Regions from separate parts of the Homo sapiens genome. Here region 2 is linked to region 1. The links are contacts of gene promoters, found by promoter capture Hi-C in human tissues and cell types (Jung and others, 2019). All regions are on one chromosome and are shown on one strand. The core of a region is centred on a gene start or on the middle of the fragment in contact, and the rest is flanking DNA. Distances in the headings are between cores, read along the strand shown. Region 1 holds the start of INSC (INSC spindle orientation adaptor protein). Region 2 overlaps RRAS2 (RAS related 2).

Region 1 (3,798 bases), core at 1,143-3,642:
GGGGAGTCCAGGAGTCCAGGAGGCTGTGCTGTGCCGTATGTATCTGGGAAGGTGGATGTGAGTGTGTGTGTGTGTGTGTGTGTGTGTGTGTGTGTGTGTGTGTGTGTATTGGGAAGTGGGGGGGGGGCATTTATGCCAAGTGCCTCCAGGGAACATCTAACAAACCAAGTCTGTTCCTCTCTTACCCTGAAACCCAGACACAGAGTTTGGGCCTGGAAATAAAAGAACTTTGAGGCTTTTTTGCTAACATCGATCTGTTTATGATCTAAGCCTCATTCTATTTCTAGCATATAATAAAATATCTTAGTTTTCCAGGTGCTTTACATCCTTGACCTCACTTCATACTTTCAACAACCTCATGAGCTGGGCAGAGATTTTTATGTTCCCCAATGTACATATGGGAAAACTGATGCTCAGAGAGGTTAAGTGATTTGTCCAAGGACTCATCACTAGAAAGTAGTAGAGGCAGGATGCAAAACAGGTTTCTTTGAGGAAGAATTGGAGACTTCTTTCCTTCCCTTCCTTTCCTTCCCTCTCTTCCCTCCCTTCCTTTCTTCCTTCCTTCCTCTTTCTTTCTTTTCTCTCTCTCTCTTTCTTTCTTTCTTTCTTTCTTTCTGTCTCTCTCTCTCTCTCTTTCTTTTTTGATGCAATCTCACTCTGTTGCCAGGCTGATGTGCAGTGGCACAATCTTGGCTCACTGGCTCACTGCAACCTCCGACTCATTGGTTCAAGCTATTCTCTTGCCTCAGCCTCCTGAGTAGCTGGGGTAACAGGCACATGACAACTCGCCCAGTTAATTTTTGTATTATTAGTAGAGATGGGGTTTCACCATGTCGGCCAGGATGGACTTAATCTCCGGACTTTGTGATCTATCCACCTTGGCCTCCCAAAGAGCTGGGATTACAGGCGTGAGCCACCACTCCCGGCTGAGACTATTCTTATCATACCACCTGCCCTACCGGAAACAGACTCAGAGAGAAGATTCTGCAAACAGTCTGTAAGACTGTGGTTTCAGTGGTAATGCCCAGCCAGGCGGCACCAAGCCCTGTCCCCAGCCCTAGACAGCACTTGTTGAAACAGGAACTGAGGCCCCTCTCAGGGAACTTGGGGAGTAGAATCAGGCTGTTCTGGATGACTGGAGGGTAGAGTTGAAGCTGGCTTGTCTGAGAGGAATGATTTGGCCACCTTCTGAGCCCTGGGCCCCCAGAGAGCTGAGGAGGAGAGTTAATATCAGAGAGCTACTGTGTGTGTTCGAGTCCAGGGAGCAGCAGTTAGCTTCAGCCAGAGCCTGAAAAAAGAAATAGAGATTATTAGCATTAAGGAAGAGAAGGCTGCAGTGGGACCTCGGCGTGGTCGTTTTGTCATGGGGACTGAGTTGAGCTCCTTCTCCCTGAATACATATTGTGAGCAAATTGACATAGTTTGCATGTGAGAGATTTAGGTTAGATGTCAAGGAGATCTTTCTGTCAGTAAGAGAGTTCAAGCTTTGGAACAGGGCTCAAGGGAGACCAGGGGCTGCCTTTGCTTGAGGACCTCCAAGAATAGGTCAAGATTCTCTGGGCTCTGGGAGCCTCATAGCAAGATGGCGGAGGCGGGGGAGGGGGAGTTGTATGAAATGATCTGGAAGCTTTCTTCCAGGTCAAAAATGCCACATTCCCGAGCTTTTGGGTAGGAATCAAGTTCCTCTAGATTTAGCTATTTGACAGAGTCCAGGACGGGGGTGGGGGGTGGGGGGTGGGGTCTGATCTTATGTGCCGAAGTTAGAAGGAGTTTCTGCAACAACCCCTCGTCATTTTTGGCAGGTCCAAGATGTGGAGGGTGACTTAGGTGTGTGTGAGCAAGGTTCCAGAGGGAAGCACCTGCGGTGAATAAACCGTCTCATTCTAGGCGTTTGGGGTCTATCAAAGCTGGGTGGCTTCCTCCTTCCTAGCAAGTGAACTGCACCCAAATCCCTCCTTGTTTTGTTTCAGCTCCAAGGGAAACGATCGCGGCACATTCCCTTCCCCTCTCCAGATGTTGGCATGCGGGGCACCTTGTGGGCGACCCCGCCTGGACGGCTTCGCGGCTCCCGGGCGATCACCCTGGTGCCTGCCGCCTGGCCCGGGGGAGCCCGGTCTCTAATTAGGCCTGACCGCGTCCCCATTCCAGCGCTCCTGCAGATGGGAGGGAGGGCCATGTTTCCCCCCCCAGGGGCACCGAAATAGCCTCGTAGTCCCGCGGAGACAGCAGGCAGCCGTGGCTGACGCGGGACCAAGGCTTGGCAGGGAGCGCGCTGCTGTGGAAGGTCCTTGGGAGGCTGCGACCGCCTCGGAGAGGGCGGGCGGGGGAGAACGGGGCGGGGGGTGGGGCGGGGGCCAGGGGCGGCCTCTCGGGCTGGGCCGGCAGAGCGGCCACTTTGCGCGCGGCCTCTGGAGCTCCAGCTGCGCCCCGCCACCACTGGCCGCTCGCACTACCAGCCTGTCTCGCACGCTAAGTAAGTAGACAGCTCCCCTAGCTGGATTCAGGGGGCTGGTGATGCCTCTGCTAGCCTAGTTGGGAACAGTGCAGGTTTGTCACTAATTGGATAGTAGGTGTAAGTGTGTCAGTGGGAGTGCTTGTGAAGGGGAGCTTGCGCCAGTGTGAGGGAGTGTGTCTGGATGGGATGTCCACATGTGGAATTTTCTAGCATGTGCCCCAGGGTGCGAGTGTGGGTGAACGAGTGTGTCAGAGTGTGTGGTGGCCTGGAGTGGGCCACAGGTATTTGCCTGTGTGGCACCTGCTGCCCTGGGTGCACTGTGTCTGTACCTGTGGAAATGCCTGTGTGTGTGGCAGGAAGGCCCCCAGGTGGGCTGAGCCAGTCCACATGTGGATGAGTGGATGTGCCAGTGTGAACCCAGGAAGGCAGAAATTGGGGCTAGGGAGTGTTATCTGAACTCAGGCTTTCTAAGGTGACCTGACTTGTCCCAGCTGGGGTGTCTTCTCTGTGGGTCATTCAGCTTTGGTTTCTCAGGGCTTGGAGAAGGACAGAAGCTCAGAGCCCTCACACAACACTGGAGTGAATGTGGCTCTGACTAACCCCATCTGGCTAGACCAGGGTCAGGGAGACAGCTTGGGAGACCCCACTCTTAAACCAGGAGAAGAGACAGGAGGCCAGGGGATGAGTGGACCATATGGCCATGGCCACCCACAAACACTCGCAGTGCACCCACGCTTACATGCTCAGCATACACACATTCCTGTCCATGTGCACCAGTCTTGCACACACTCTTCTCAGGATAGCCATGCAACCATTCACACTTTCAACATGTATACCTGTGGACAACGACATGTATGCAACATGCACCCACTTTGTTCAATGCATATGCGCAAATGTATCCCTGGTGTGGCCCCACCCTCAGCCGCTAGCCTCCTCCCACTTTTGCCCCTTTTAATCTATATATTATACCTCTGACAATGGGTCCAAGAAACTGGCCTCAGTGGGGAATATTTTAAGTCAGGGACTTTGGCTGTGGGGGTCAGGGCAGATGGTGATGTGGTGCCTTTGAGGGGTTCCATTGAATCTGAAACTGAGGCTGTCCATGGAGCTCAGCCAGAGAGCATCTTGTCCCTTTAGCTCTGGGACTTAGAAGCACTGTTCGCCCTTTTAGAAGTGAAAACTTCCAAACACTGCCTTTGGAAGGCAAGCCAGGTCAGGCTGGGATCTGACATGGAGCTCAGCATATATAATTTGCTCCATGCTGTAGTTTATACTCTGGATTACACTTGCTGCAGAGAAGCAGTGACCTTTCTGGGTTGGGTCCCAAGGCAACCATTTGGCAG
Region 2 (3,606 bases), core at 101-2,600, 790 kb before region 1:
GACATACGCCTAGAAAAATACAAACTCAAAATTGATTCAAGAATAATTAGAAGGCTGGGTACAGTGGCTCACACCTGTAATGCCAACACTTTGGGAGGCTGAGATGAGAGGATCACTTAAGCCCAGGAGTTTGAGATCAACCTGGGCAACATAGTGAGACTTCATCTCTACAAAAACAAAACAACAACAAAAAAACTAGGCCAAGCATAGCGGCATGCGCCTATAGTCCCAACAGCTTGGAAGGCTAAGGTAGGAGGATTGCTTGAGCCTGGGAGGTGGATGGTGCAGCAAAGTGAGATCACACCACTGCACTCCGACCTGGGTGACAGAGCGAGACCCTGTCTCAAAAAAAAAAGGATAATCAGAAAGCCTGAACAGCACTATGACTAATAAAGGAAGAAAAAATAAAATAAACTTCCCCCTCTTCCCCCCACCGGCACACACACAAACTAGGTCTAAAAGTTGTAAAAGCAAGGTCTACCAAACTTTCAGGAAACAAGTAAATCCAGTATCACACAAATTCTTCCAGAGAATAGAAAAGGAGGAAATACACCCCCCAAGTCATTTTATGAGGCCAGTATAATCTGGATACCAAAACCAGACAAGAACATTATTAAAAAATGAAAATTACAGGCCAATTTCACTAATAAACATACATGAAAAGAGTCCATATGCAAAATATTAACAAACAGAATCCAGAATCCAACAGTATATAAAAATATACATTATGACCAATATGTCCCAGAAATTCAGGAACAGAATATATAGACTTTTTTAAAATTATAAATATAATTCACCATATGAACAGACTAAAGAAAAACACTATAAGAGATATGGAAAAAGGATAAGAAAATGTCACATTTGTCTTAAAAAAAAAAAAACTATAGCAAACAACACTTTTTACAGTGAAACTCATTAAAATCAAGAACAAGTATGTATGTCTACTATTACCATATTTATTCAACATTACATTGGAGGTCCTAGTTAATTTAATAAGAAAATAAAGTGGTATACAAATTTTTAAGAATATATTTGATATGATTATCTGCACAGGAAACAATATACATAATAATTATTGGAATTAGAATTCAGCAAGGTATTTGGATATAAAAGTCTACATAGTCCCCTCAACCTGTCGAAAAAATAAACAGCAAAAAAAAATACCACTTCTGTATAAAGCTATTAGAAAGCTTAAGTCAAATAAAAGACACCATTTACAACAGCAACAGCAAATATATGATATGCAGGACTAACTCTAGTAAAAATATATTCTAGACCTTTAGGGAAAGAAATAATTAAGCTTTAAACAGAGGCCAAAAAAAAAAAAAAAAAGGAAAACGTATATGAGTGTAAAAGCATTCTCTTCATGGATAGAATTGTCAAGGTATCAGTGCTCCCTTAACTGACCCAATTTAAATTTGTTTTAACATTACTGGGTTTTTCATAGAATTTGACAAGCTGAACCTAAAATTTATAAGCAAGAAAATAGCCAAGAAATTGTTTATAAGTGTAAGAGTCATGAGAATTTTTTTGTTTTGCTCAATGCCATTTTCCCAGCACCTAAAAAGTTCCTGGCACATAGCAGTTGTCTCCAATATATGTGCTGAATGAATTTTTGAATGAACACAGCAGGGAAACTTATCCTACCCTCTACGAAATTTAGAATGGAAATGACACAAGAATAGGCAAAAAAGACAAATGGAACAAAACAGAAGGCCTAAAAATAAATCCACATGAATGAAATTCGATATATAAATAGAAGAGCAGATCATAGGGGAAGCATAGAACAGTACTCAAAAAGTGATGCTGGGATAACTAGTTTATGCATGTGGAAAAAAGCGAGATTGAGGGGAGAGATTATAAAGGGTTCATAAATCTCTAAGCACAGCCTGTATTATCTCTAGATTCTTCCTAGCAAAGCCTCACAAGTTTTACATTAAGATGCTATTCTAATTGAGAAAATATATAGTACCTCACCTGGAATGGTAATGCACAATAATATAAACACTTACTGCATGTTAGCTATCATCGTATCTGAGCCCTCAAACTTACCCTGATGTGAAGCCTTGCTTCACCACTTCCCAGCTTTGTCATTGGAGAAGTTACTTGAATTCACCTTGTCTTACCACAAAATGAGCTTGCACTAGCACTTACCTCAGCAAGAGTACTGTTGGGAGTTTCTTTTAATCCTTTTAGTATTTTTTTTTTTTTTTTTTTGAGACAGAGTCTCGCTCTGTCGCCCACGCTGGAGTGCAGTGGCGCGATCTTGGCTCACTGCAAGCTCTGCCTCCCGGGTTCATGCCATTCTCCTGCCTCAGCCTCCTGGGACTACAGGCGCCTGCCACGACGCCTGGCTTTTTGTATTTTTAGCAGAGAGGGGGTTTCACCTTGTTAGCCAGAATGGTCTCGATCTCCTGACCTCGTGATCCTCCCGCCTTGGCCTCCCAAAGTGCTGGGATTACAGGCGTGAGCCACCGTGCCCGGCTTCCTTTCAATATTTTTATTTTAGAATGGCATTAAGTTTGTAGATTAACAATTAGAATTGACACTGTTAAGAATCTGAATTTTCAGATCTGGAAATATAGTATGCTTTTCTGTTTAAGTCTTTGTCTTAAAAAAATTTAATGTTTGCTTTAAAATTTTGTATGGAAGACTGTAAAAAAAAATTTAACACACATTTTTTAAGTGTGTAGAAGTAGTCTTTTTGTTTGCTATTCTAAAAGGGGTGTCTTCTTCCATTGTATCTTCTACTTGATTTGTAAAAACTCTAAGTATTACATAAAATACTGTCCAATTGTGGAATGCAGTAGAGGCTGGGGAATGAGCAGCAACTGATAGCATTTTGAAGGAGGATCAAGTCTGGAATCTCACTATGCTTCTCTCATCTCCTTCCTTGAATTTAAGATGTTTTTTAAGAATATTACAGAATAGCATTCAGCAAAACATGGACGTGTACTAGAACCCCTTTGAGAGAACTTGGTTTTTTATTCTTGAATGGTGCTAAAAAGTGACCTTATTATCCCATAGCATGGAATCCAAAAATAGTAGTAAAGAAGGCTTCCACAGAATATGTGCAAATCTGAAAATCTCAGGGCATGTACCTAATGCTATATTTATTTTTCACAAAACCGGAAATAGTGACAGCTTAAAACAAGTAACTAGACTGTTATATAGCTTTTAAAATGCTGCTGCTATTGTGTAATTTTTAGCATTTTGTATATTGAATTTCTATGCCAGGAAGTATGCCACTGTTAACTATTTTACATGATGCCTAAATTTTATTTTAAATAAAAAGTTATCACACATATCAAACTCAACTACACAAATTGTTATACTAAAACATTTCAGGAAATATGTGCTTTCTAACGCTAATGAAGTTTTAGAAAAGATTGTAAATATACAAACATAAAATAAACAAGTATCACCAATTCTGAAATTTGTTAAATCAGTAAAAGAATTTTAAGGGGTAAAAGTTCTATATCTTTATACCAGCTGACTTGACAAAATTAAGAGTTCCAGTAAGAGCAAAATGTTGTCCTCTATTTGGGAGGGGGAGGGGACAGGGCACTGAGCAATCAAGCAGTTAAAACTCCTATGTCGTATCTT

What was found. Contacts are between HindIII fragments. The study calls those that stand out against the background at their distance.
Region 2: a fragment that was not itself captured here is called in contact with the fragment with the promoter of INSC in region 1 in 1 of the 25 tissues and cell types used here (aorta).

What each region holds. Positions count from the first base shown.
Region 1 is chr11:15,112,531-15,116,328 of GRCh38, forward strand. INSC (INSC spindle orientation adaptor protein) reads left to right here and starts at 2,393. Exons shown (of 13, transcript NM_001042536.3): 1 at 2,393-2,473. RefSeq lists enhancers at 866-915, 1,567-2,100. The HindIII fragment of the contact is 4,237 bases long and covers 1-3,753 here.
Region 2 is chr11:14,323,113-14,326,718 of GRCh38, forward strand. All of the region lies in intron 1 of RRAS2 (RAS related 2), which reads right to left. Among named protein-coding and RNA genes, the nearest start is that of RRAS2, 34 kb to the right of the region's middle. RefSeq lists an enhancer at 198-277. The HindIII fragment of the contact is 4,046 bases long and covers 1-3,373 here.